3 separate regions of the Homo sapiens genome follow, and regions 1 and 3 are each linked to region 2. The links are contacts of gene promoters, found by promoter capture Hi-C in blood cells and fetal thymus (Javierre and others, 2016). All regions are on one chromosome and are shown on one strand. The core of a region is centred on a gene start or on the middle of the fragment in contact, and the rest is flanking DNA. Distances in the headings are between cores, read along the strand shown. Region 1 overlaps SYT16 (synaptotagmin 16). Region 2 holds the start of PRKCH (protein kinase C eta). Region 3 overlaps SYT16 (synaptotagmin 16).

Region 1 (4,004 bases), core at 943-3,442, 540 kb before region 2:
AGTCCACTGGATATATACAAAATAATTAATTCAGATTCCCTCCCAGTTGGTGAGCAGTATTGTGATGAATCTCATTATCAGAAATCCCACTCTCTGATCACCACCTTCCATACTTCTAGTTCACTCCTTGCTGGTCCTACATTCCAACTCCAGCCAACTTGATTCTTCCTGGTCCTAGATTCCATCCATCCTACCACTTTCGTCACTGCCTCTCACCCTCCTCCGATTGCTTTCTTCTTCCCCCAGCTTAAAATGCCATGGTCAGTCTCCGTACACCTCACTTGAATACTTCCTCAACACTTGCATCTTCCCACTGCATTAGGCCCACTTAGCAAAACCACACCCTGGTAAAATCCAACACTGCCTGTATCAACATAGCTAAACAAGGCTGGAGAAAAACACTCTTGAATCGAATGGCCTCACATGAAATTCATGGCCTCAAGCCTCAGGTGGATCCTCAATGTAGTGCAGCAATCTTTCTACTTTTCCCTACTCCATTTTCTCCCATTCTCTTGGCCCAGTGCCTCTTAAACTATCTGCTGTGAGGACTAGATGTTTTTATTTCCAATCTATTATAGACCAATACTTTTTAAAAATACAATAAAAATGTTACAGCAATGTCAAGTGCTATAACAGTTTCTAAAAGCTTGCTCTCACTTTCTGTACTCATCTCCTGGCAAGTCAGTAACCAAGGGCTCCCCAACTGGCCACTTTGTGCACTGCAGTCCTAGATGACAAATCTCAAATTGCCAGCACCTCCCCACCTTATTCACTCTGAGTTGATCATCTTGCTTCCTCTTTCACTAAAAAGGAATGAAAGACAATCAGTTCTTACTGATATGCAAATGATGTTTACAAAGGTTATTACTACACTCCTATAATTGCTTCTGTGCTGCTTTGCAAAAAATGAAAACTAAAAATAAATCACACCCAAACAAATACAGGCTAGAATGGTTTGTTGTTGTTGTTGTTGTTGTTTGGAAAGAAGCAGTTCTTTCAAAGTAGCTTTGTTACTTGTACCAAACTGTAAACATAAAACCTTTGTGCAACCTAGAGTGACTTTTTCCAAAGATTGTTACCTATTTCAAGGTGGAACCATTAAAACGTACTGAACCACAGTGGAAAAGACAACTATTGAGCCTAATTGAGGAGAAGGGTACTGTTTATTTCTGTGGCAACTGTATGTGGGTATATGGACAAGGTCTGTCATCTATTTAGGGACTTGTTTTATATGTCCCCGACCTTATCCACATCTTTTTGTTTTCTTTTGAATGTACTTTTCCAAACAAAGAATTATAAAATTATTTCAACCTTAGAACCTTAAGATGCCTTCAAATGGATTTATGTTAGTCTTTAGGGAGTCAATGTGTTGCTGCTTATTATAATATAGTTCGCTTGGAGCCCCAAGTGTGCCAATGTCCTCCCCACACTTCCCAGATGCCTTCATCTTCCTGTGAGCACTTGAGCTAGGAATCTCAGGTGACTTAATTTGGTTTTCCAGTGCTGAGGAGGCTACATTGTCTGGGGTATATATCCAGGGGCTCACCATTTGGCATTGGAAAATTTAGGACACAGACACAAGGAGTTTGTGTCTGTGTCCTAAACCTTTAGGAGTAAAGGTTTAATAGGCAGAAGAAGAGAAACAGCTCTCTCTGTCGAGAGAGAGAGGGGTTTTCCGAGCGGAAAAGATGGGCTGGCTGTGGATGTGCCGGATTGTATAGTAAAGCTTGAGGAGGTGGTGTCTGATTTAGGTAGGTAGGGCTCACAGATTGGTTTAATCAAATGTGAAGTTTACATAGCACGCCCAAATCCGGTCACCCCACCCTAATCTTATTATGCTAATGAACTCTCCGTGTCTGGCCGCCATCTTGTCGCTCTTTACTGTACACATGGCTGGCACCTAAAGGAAGATGGAGCCAACATGTCTAGTCCCTAGTTCCCGCCAGCATTCACTAGCGCAAGCTCCCAGGTTGGCTGTCTACGTCTGCAGCTCGACTTTACAGGCTGCTCTTTGTTAGAAAATGATTTGGGGCTGGCCGGGCGCGGTGGCTCACGCCTGTAATCCCAACACTTTGGGAGGCCGAGGCGGGCGAATCATGAGGTCAGGAGATCAAGACCATCCTGGCTAACATGGTGAAACCCCGTCTCTACTAAAAATACAAAAAAAAAAATTAGCCGGGCGTAGTGGTGGGCGCCTGTAGTCCCAGCTACTCGGGAGGCTGAGGCAGGAGAATGGCGTGAACCCAGGAGGCGGAGGTTGCAGTGAGCCGAGATCGCACAGCCGCACTCCAGCCTGGGCAACAGAGTGAGACTCCGTCTCAAAAAAAAAAAAAGAAAAGAAAAGAAAAGAAAAAAGAAAATGATTTGGGGCTGCTTTTCATTAAAAAGCCTTACCGAGGACTCCCATAACCTTACTATCTGCCTAAGTGATTTCTTCTTAACCCCTGTATCAGTGCCTACTCTATTGAAAAACTAGTTTTTCATTCTTGAGAAGAAACTTATGGAAGGACACGTTTCCTATCACAAGTTCACGTACTAATTTTTTTGTTTAATTTCCTTGGTGCGACTTATGCCAAGTAATTATGAAGATTTTTTTTCCTGGGTATTTCATGAAGCCTAGGAAGTTGGAACAGGCAAATCCTGGGTGTGAAAGCTTTATTTTATCTACCTCATTTATTTTTTATTTGTTGTAGTCATAGTCTCTGCTTTCCTATTTTAAGACCACTGAAGTATTCCCAGGCCCTGTCTTAAACTTAAGAGTTGATGTATTGGTGGGAAGAACTGAATGTTCAAGATGATCTTTTTATTCCATTTTTTTATAATCTCCTTTTGTACATGTAATAACATTGAGCATATGAATTATTGTTCCTCTAATGGCTTAACGGGAAAGGAGAAAGAAAGATCCTAACTTCTGGGTGGAAAAGTCTTTCCCCTGTATGCGGAAGGCCCTGATTGAAATGTGGACCTAAGACTGTTTGCCAAGTTTTGTCTCTTAGTTATTGCACCTTGACTTTAGGATTCCCCAATTTTTTTTTTCTTTTTTTCTTTCTTTTTTTTTTTTTTTTTTTTTTTGCCAAGCTGTGCCTTTCCTTCTGGAATTGTAAGTGAACACAATAGTACATGCTTACACTGTGAAGTGGATACTGTTACGGAGAACACAACAGTGGCTTTCTCACTGTTGAGATGATAATGTCTTGTGAATGTATGATCTACAGAGAAACCCCTGTAGTTTTATCCACTGATGCTGTCTGCTGGAAAATAAATTTTGAATGTTTTTTCCCCCTGTCAAAATGACAGACAGACAGACAGACAATCAGAAGGGACCAAACTTTCCTTCCATATACTCTTTCTTCCCTTTTATTAGAGATGAATTGCTTGTGTTCCCATCTTAGGTCAAATCCTCCATTTATGCACTGGATTCCAACCTCTCTTCTACTCAAAGACACTGTTCCATCAATTCTTTCTCTCCTGCATCAGAGATTTTTCCCTTTCTACTGAGTTATTCCTATCACTGTACATGCTATTATTTCTCCCATCTTAAGAAGAAAATCTCTTGCTCCCACTTCCCCTCCAGCCTCTTGACTGCACTCTCCTTTAGTACTGTCTATATGCTCTTTCCAGCCCCTCTTCCTTAACCAACTCCAGCCAGGCTTACCCCACCACTCCATTACATTGCTTTCTCAAGGTCACTAGGGAAACTCACTTTGTAAACTCTGGCAGTCAACTGTCAATCTTCGAAGTAGACACTTTCTATGGTACATGTCATGTTCCCTGGGCCCACCTCTAATTTCAGTCATAGCTGCAGTTGGTTCCGTGCTCATTAACAGCATTCCTTAACAAGCACCCACCTCATCTCTCTCTGCTTTCAGCCTCAAGGTTTCTCCCACAAGAGCTTGCAAATCCCAGAAGTAGAGAAGAGTTAACACTCTCAAGAAAACCCTCAACCAAGGGGGACCAGACACATGTCCCAGCTTCCCATTGTCTGAGCAGAAAATTGTGGCTGG
Region 2 (3,637 bases), core at 210-2,709:
GCTAAATAATAAAACTGCCAACGTGCAGACCCAGGCGCTCATTTCCCTGCCAGTGTAGCTCATGTACCTCTGGGATGTGCAAGCCGAAACACGTGTGCACGTCTGAGCGGCTGAACCAACATGTATCCATAAACATTATGAATAATACTCGCGAGAATGTACGGCTTTCTCCTAAGTAGCGCTTGAAGCACTTTACCCAAATCAAGTCCCTTTTGTATCACTCCTTCCCTGCCTTTCCTACCTATCACTCTCGTGCTGAAAGTTGGAGCTCCTTACCCAAAGACTGGGCGGAAAGGGTGACCGCCCTGGACCCCTGCCCGACTTCCCGTTAGGCCAAGCCGCTGTCCTGAAAGGGGATCGTGTCCAGGCCGGCTTCCTGGAGACACACCTGCGCCTGCACACACCCACCGCGGTCGCGTCACCAGTGCCGCGGCCACGTGGACGAAGACCAAAGTCTGGAGGGAATTCCCTCAGCCACAAAGCGATGGGAAAGCGGGACCCGGGTGAGTTTTGAAAAACATAAGGGGAACGGGGGTTGGGTGGACACAAAGGGAAGGGGTCACCGCTACTCACCCAACCCTCGAAGGTGTCCGAGGCGCCGGTCGTGCGCAGCAGCTCCTGGAACTGCAGGGTGCAGTTGGCCACGAAGTGGTCGTAGCCCAGGGGCGTCTCGTGGAAGACGGCCAACTCGAGGTGGCCGCCGTCGGTGACGTTAGCGCAAAACTCCTCGTTGTACGTGGGTTTGTTGGTCTTCTGCTTGGTGCTGGTCTGGCCCACGCGCACCTGGTCCACGCTCACCGTCAGATAGGGGTCCAGCAGCTGGTGGCCCTTCTTGAAGAGCGAGTGGCGCAGGGACCAGCGGGTGGGCTGCAGCCCCACTGCCTCACCGATGCGGACCCTCAAATAGCCATTGAACTTCATGGTGCCAGACGACATGCCGGCGCCGCTGCCCCGGCCCCGGGGGGCCGCGCTGCTTCGCAGCGGGAGAACCGGGAGTCCCGTCTCAGGCCAGCCCTCGGGACAGGTGCAGGAGTCGAGGCAGCCCTGGGGAAAGGCAGCGCCTAAGCGCCCCTCGACTGGCCATTCTGCCTCCTCCGTGGGACTTTTCCCTCCCCTCCTTCCCTCCCTCCCGAGGTGGAAAGGAGGGGAGCCCGCCGCCGAGCCCTCAGCGGGCCGGGGAAGCCCGACCGTCCCTTCCAAGCGCGCGGCGCCTCCCGGGGACTCGCGCAGGACTCGCCCCTTCTCCAGGGCCGGGCAGCTCCTCTCCCTGGAGAGCCGGACCTACCCGTCCGGTGAGCCCCAGCCCCAAGCGTCTCTTCCCCCGCCTCCTCTTGCTTCTCCTCCTGCCCCCGCCTCCGAAGGCTCACGCTCTCCCCCACTCGGCGAGCTTCAAACCAGGAAGCAGCTGCCGCCGCCGCATCCCCGGCGAGAACCTCGCACCGCCAGGTTCCAAGTTCACAGAACCCCCGCGTCCGCTCCCGCGCCTTCCGGACCCCAGGGGCGTGGCCCGCGGTCCGCGGCCCGGCCCTGCGGTGGGTGGATCCCCGCGCAAGCCCCCGGGAGGCCAGTGCCCGCTTGCGCCGCCCTGCGCGCCCTCCTTGTAGCGCTGGGTCTGGCCGTGCGCTGCGGGTTAGGGGCCACCCCGGGCGCAGGCCAAAAAGGAAAGGGTTCGTGGCCCAGCCCGAGCAAACACCTGAGGCGTGGTAGACTGACCTGGGGAGCGATGGAAGGTTGGGAGGACGCAGAGGAGGGCGCTCCAGCCAGGAACCCGCGCGGCGAGGAGTCGCCCGCCCCCTCTCTCCCAACCTCCCCGGTGGGCTGGTGACCCTGCAGGGCCATCCCCAAGAGGCCCTGGCCGGAGGCGGGGGCACGGCGGGGAGGTTCTTTTTCCTAATATTTACAGGGATGGCTCATCCCGGGGTCAGCTCGAACGCATCCTGTTTGTGCGCCTTTCCTGCAGAGGCTAATTACACAGTTGTGTGTATGTGTGTGTTTTAATAGGGCAGTAGTAATGATGGAAATCCTGTTCGCCTCCTTCCTCGGAAGGTGTGTCTTGTTGCACATAGAGCAGGAAAGGTCGGTTCTTCTGGAGACAGACATGGCCAAGAGGTAATAAGTCTCTTCCTCTGCGGGTGGTTTCTGGTCCACCCAGCTCTGCGCGGCAAGGGCAGAAAATGTTCACACACACAGGCTGTCCCCAACACACACGCGGAAGAAATTGCCTCTTCTAGGAACACTCCAGCTTGTTGTATTTGCAGTCAGAGTGGGCAGCCTTCTGATGCTTCCCACCCCGTGGTCCCTGCAGATTTTGTCTCCGGGGAGGACCTTTTAGCCTACGCTGCTATGCCGCAAAGCTTGCTCCCTGAGGGCCAGCCACAACCAATTTGTTCCCCAAAAAGCCTAGGCCACTTTTTGTTGTTGTTGTTGTTGTTGTTTTTGAGACGGAGTTTCGCTTTTGTTGCCCAGGCTGGAGTGCAATGGCGCCATCTCGGCTCACCGCAACCTCCGCCTCCCAGGTTCGAGCGATTCACCTGCCCCAGCCTCCCGAGTAGCTGGAATTACAGGCATGCGCCACCACGCCCGGCTAATTTTGTATTTTTAGTAGAGACAGGGTTTCTCCATGTTGGTCAGGCTGGTCTCAAACTCCCGACCTCAAGTGATTCGCCTGCCTCGGCCTCCCAAAGTGCTGAGATTACAGGCGTGAGCCACAGCACCCAGCCAAGCCTAGGCCACTCTTAAGATACTTGATTACATTCTGTCTTGCTATACTGGTTCCCTCGGAGCAGATTCGGCTTGCTTTCATTCCTTTCTTTCTTCCTTCCCTCCTTTCTTTCTTTTATGTTTTAGAGACTGGGTTTTGCTTTGTCATCCAGGCTGGAATACAGCGGTGTGATCATGGCTTACCATAACCTCCAGCTCCCAGGTTCAAGTGATCTTCCAGCCCCTGCCTCCTAAAGTGTTAAGATTACAGGCATGAGCCCCCGTGCCTGGCCCCAGGTTCATCTTTCTAGCCCCCACTCCTCTAAGGCCCTGTTCAGAACTTTCTAATTGAGTAGGTTCTCAACGATTTCACATGAGTGCAAGGAGGCCTGACCCGTAATAACAGCACTATACAGAATGAAAACAAGTAAGGACAATGGGCCAGGGGGGAAAGGGCCTGTCTTGAAAACACCAAAGCTTCCTTAGAGAACAAGGCAGGGATGCAACGCATCACTCTAATGACATCTTAGCTTTAGGCAGGGCTTGTAAAGCCTGCTCCCAAACGTCCAGGGGGCTCCTGTTTGGCCTTAGTGCTCCAGGGGAAGATGTCGCATCTACCCTGTGGGTCAGCTCTGTCACCCTTTCCTCCAAACAGCTGAACTCTAGCTTTAAGAGCCACTAAAGGATTTGCTCCTGTTGGACTTTGGGGCTAAAAGAAAACAGTCCCCATACAGAATCATGGGGTGTAGACTTTAAATTTTTTTTTAAATTTTAAAAAGAAAACAGTCCCCAAATGGTAGGTGGCCACACAGCTGTCCTGGGACTGGGATATGACGATACCAGACACTCCATCTTCACCCTATCAGTACCTATCAGGATTGGCAATGGTGACAGAGCAGTGGGTCAGACAGCCATGGTGCCTGCCCTCCTGGGGCTT
Region 3 (3,777 bases), core at 549-3,048, 510 kb before region 2:
TATAGTTGAGACTCTTTTCTCTTAAGGTAGTTGAGTAGGTTGTAATGTCTGCAATAAAAATCCTGGTTATTACAACAGAAGACAAGGAAACAAATAGAATTAGTAAATCACTCTAGAGAAAAAAGCAAATCAATGGGAGGTGGAGTAGAAAGGAAAATGAGGGACTGGGGAAGGAATGTAGGAGAATGGCTACAGGATTTCAGAAGGTGCACATTTAATATTCAATTTTAGACTGTTTATGTTACCAAGATATAAACTTCTCCTATCCCTCCAAACCATCAATTGGTTTTCTACATATTCAAATGCCTTTCAAGTGAATGGACTGCTGATGTTTGTGTGAATTAAGGCAAATGGATTCCTTTTCCTTTGCCGATCTGGGCCATTGCAATGCAGACACAAGAGCAGCCACCGGCAGTAAAGTAGAGCAATAAACACACGCAGGTGCAGGCACAAAGAGGTGGAAGGTACCATGAGAAATCAACCCCCAGGAATTCAATTTCTATGATGTGTATGAAGGATACAGGAGTAAAGACTTGAGCTGACCTCTGGGTTATACAAAGATAAGCTGCCCCTAGACCAGTGGTTTTCAAACTTTAGCAAGTACCAGAATCACCTGGGGGGCTAATCAAAACACTGATTGCTACGCTCCACCAGGTTTCTCAATCAGTGGATCTGATACAAGTTCTGATTAATTAAATTTCTAACAAGTTCCCGGTGATGGCAACGTTACTAGTCCAGTAACCATATTTTGTAAACCACCGTTCTAGGCCAACGAGAGTGGGTCTTACTCACCTGGGACATGTAAATTGAGAAAGACAGGAAAAGTTTCTGTGAGCCAGGTAGGAAAATTTTTGTTCCATTATCTATAGTTTAAAATGTATTTCTGTAGAAAAGTTTTGTTTGATTTTGTTATCAATGTGCTGCTGATCAAAGTATAAATTGGTACAATCCTTCTGTAGGGAAATTTGGCAACATCAAAATATTAAATGAGTATATCCTTTGACTCAGCAGTTCTGCACCCAGAAGAAGAAAACAGTGTAAAAAGATAATTTCAGGAATATTCTGGCAGTATTTTTTGATCTTTTAAAAATCCCTAAATGGCCATAAAAAGGTGATTGATAAAATCAATCATAAAAAAAAAAAGTCACCTGGCCGGGCGCAGTGGCTCACGCCTGTAATCCCAGCACTTTGGGAGGCCAAGATGGGCAGATCAAGAGGTCGGGAGTTTGAGACCAGCCTGGCCAACATAATGAAACCCCATCTCTACTAAGAATACAAAAAATTAGCTGGGCATGGTGGCAGGCGCCTGTAATCCCAGTTACTTGGGAGGCTGAAGCAGGAGAATCACTTGAACCCAGAAGGAGGAGGTTGCAGTGAGCCGAGACCGCGCCACTGCACTCTTTCCCCGGGCGACAATGTGAGACTCTGTCTCAAAAAAAAAAAAAAAAAAAAAAAAATTCACCTTTCATGAGACAACATTTACAGTGTACTATTTATTGAAAAGGCAGGTCCTTATACACATTACTCCACTAGTCAGTGCTGCTCAAAGTAGCAGCCTATTAACTGTTTTTTGCTGTTCTTAAAGCTATAAATCAGCACACACTGCCTTCTTCCTTGAAAATGTCTTATCACAGCAAACAATGCAACAATTTCTCTTAATATCTTCATATGCAAAGTGGGTATAAAAGGTCAGGATTTATAAAAAGGTAAGTTTCTTTAAGACCTTAATGAAACTAAAACAAGTGCTTTGGAAACAAATATTCCCAAACACATGCCTGGTTTTATGGGAATGCTATGCTATATACCATCATATATCAACACACATCTTTTTCAAACAACAGGTAATTGGAATACAGCAGTGTGTTTAATGAATAATTTTAAGAGAGAACAATTCAGAGCATCAAACAGTATTTATATACCAGTACAACTGGATAGATGGATGGGTGATCTGGTATATCAAATGTGAATCAGGGCTGGGTGCAGTGGCTCATGTCTGTAATCTCAACACTTTGGGAGGCCAAGGAAAGCAGATCACCTGAGGTCAGGAGTTCAAGACCAACCTGGCCAACATGGTGAAACCCCATCTCTACTAAAAATACAAAATTAGCCAGGCATGGTGGCGCACACCTGTAATCCCAGCTACTTGGGAGGCTGGGGCAGAAGAATCACTTAAACCCGGGAGGCAGAGGTTGCAGTGAGCCGAGATCACACCACATTGCACTCCAGCCTGGGCAACAAGAGCAAGACTCTGTCTCAAAAAAAAAAAAAAAAAAAAAAAAGCCAGGCACGGTGGCTCATGCCTGTAATCCCAGCACTTTGAGAGGCCAAGGCAGGCAGATCACGAGGCCAAGAGTCTAAGACCAACCTGGCTAACATGATGGAACCCTGTCTCTACTAAAAATATAAAAAATTAGCCAGGCATGGTGGCAGGTGCCTGTAATCCCAGCTACTCAGGAGGCTGAGGCAGGAGAATTGCTTGAACCTGGGAGGTGGAGGTTACAGTGAGCCGAGATCGCACCACTGCTCTCCAGCCCAGGCGACAGTGGGAGACTCCATCTCAAAAAAAATAAATGTGAATCAGGACATTTAACCGTGTAGTATACAGAGCTGATATGGATGCATCCTTCCCACTAAAAACACATGGAAATTCTAAATAAAATATAACCAATAAGCAAAATTACTTCCAAAGAACAAGTATCTCCCAGATTCCAAAATTTAAAAAAAAAAAAAAAAAAAATCAAAGCCAGAGCTTCAGCAATCCACTGGAAATTTAGTTTCAGACTTAGAGGCTATGGGACTCCACAGGGAAAAAGAACAGGATTGGAAGCTCCACCTCCAACTCCCTGCAGGAATAAAGCCCTGCACCTTAAAGAACAGTCCTGTAAGTAAAAAGGAAACTGTACACAGCCTGCTCGCTAGCGCAAAGAAAGAGCGAGGAAGCTGCTGAGTGCCCTGGTCCTTGAGTTTAAAATTTAAATTTAAAAAAAAAAAAAAAAAAAAAGCCACTGCTGGGCGCAGTGGCTAATGTCTGTAATCCCAGCACTTTGGGATCACAAGGTCAGGAGTTCAAGACCAGCCTGGCCAACATGGCAAAACTCTGTCTCTACTAAAAATACAAAAATTGGCCAAGCACGGTGGCTCACGCCTGTAATCCCAGCACTTTGGAGACAGGCAGATCACCTGAGGTCAGAAGTTCGAGACCAGCCTGACCAACATGGAGAAACCCCGTCTCTACTAAAAATACAAAATTAGATGGGCATGGTGGCCCATGCCTGTAATCCCAGCTACTCGGGAGGCTGAGGCAGGAAAATCGCTTGAACCCGGGAGGCAGAGGTTGCAGTGAGCTGAGATCGAGCCATCGCACTCCAGTCTGGGCAACAAGAACAAGACTCCGTCTCAAAAAAAAAAAAAAGAAAAGAAAAAAAAGCCACCCATGAGCCATGAGAAATAGAAATCTAGGACTTGCACAGGTTGAGGGGTCTAAATGTTTCCTCCATACAGTTTTTAATACTCCAAGATGAATTGTTACTATAAAAAGTGATCCAGGACCACCAAAATTCCTAGGGATACAGTAAACACAACATGAAAATCTCCGTCCTTACAGACAGAGATTGAAATAAATAATTTTACAGCTCAAAGCTTATGGAAAACTCACTGAAGATGAACTAGCACAATTAAATATCACAGAACACAGGAGGAAACGAATCACCATGAGGGTGAATCAGCAGACCTGAAAATTGACACCTTAAGAAGTGAAAACAATAGATGAATTAAACG

The links. The method cuts DNA at HindIII sites, captures the fragments that hold promoters and counts their contacts. A CHiCAGO score of 5 or more calls a contact.
Region 1: a contact is called between a fragment that was not itself captured here and the fragment with the promoter of PRKCH in region 2, in 1 of 17 cell types (monocytes). The highest score is 5.2, in monocytes.
Region 3: a contact is called between a fragment that was not itself captured here and the fragment with the promoter of PRKCH in region 2, in 12 of 17 cell types (activated CD4 T cells, non-activated CD4 T cells, M1 macrophages and 9 more). The highest score is 19.6, in activated CD4 T cells.

The regions. Positions count from the first base shown.
Region 1 is chr14:61,857,189-61,861,192 of GRCh38, reverse strand. The region is part of intron 1 of SYT16 (synaptotagmin 16); the gene reads right to left. Among named protein-coding and RNA genes, the nearest start is that of SYT16, 46 kb to the right of the region's middle. The HindIII fragment of the contact is 927 bases long and covers 1,729-2,655 here.
Region 2 is chr14:61,319,401-61,323,037 of GRCh38, reverse strand. It overlaps PRKCH (protein kinase C eta), which reads right to left and starts at 1,459. Exons shown (of 14, transcript NM_006255.5): 1 at 574-1,459. The coding sequence starts at 936. It overlaps PRKCH-AS1 (PRKCH antisense RNA 1), which reads left to right and starts at 220. Exons shown (of 5, transcript NR_186042.1): 1 at 220-503. RefSeq lists enhancers at 27-570, 571-1,115 and silencers at 1,077-1,246, 1,397-1,666. The HindIII fragment of the contact is 5,451 bases long and covers 1-2,356 here.
Region 3 is chr14:61,832,931-61,836,707 of GRCh38, reverse strand. The region is part of intron 1 of SYT16 (synaptotagmin 16); the gene reads right to left. Among named protein-coding and RNA genes, the nearest start is that of SYT16, 22 kb to the right of the region's middle. The HindIII fragment of the contact is 3,687 bases long and covers 1-3,641 here.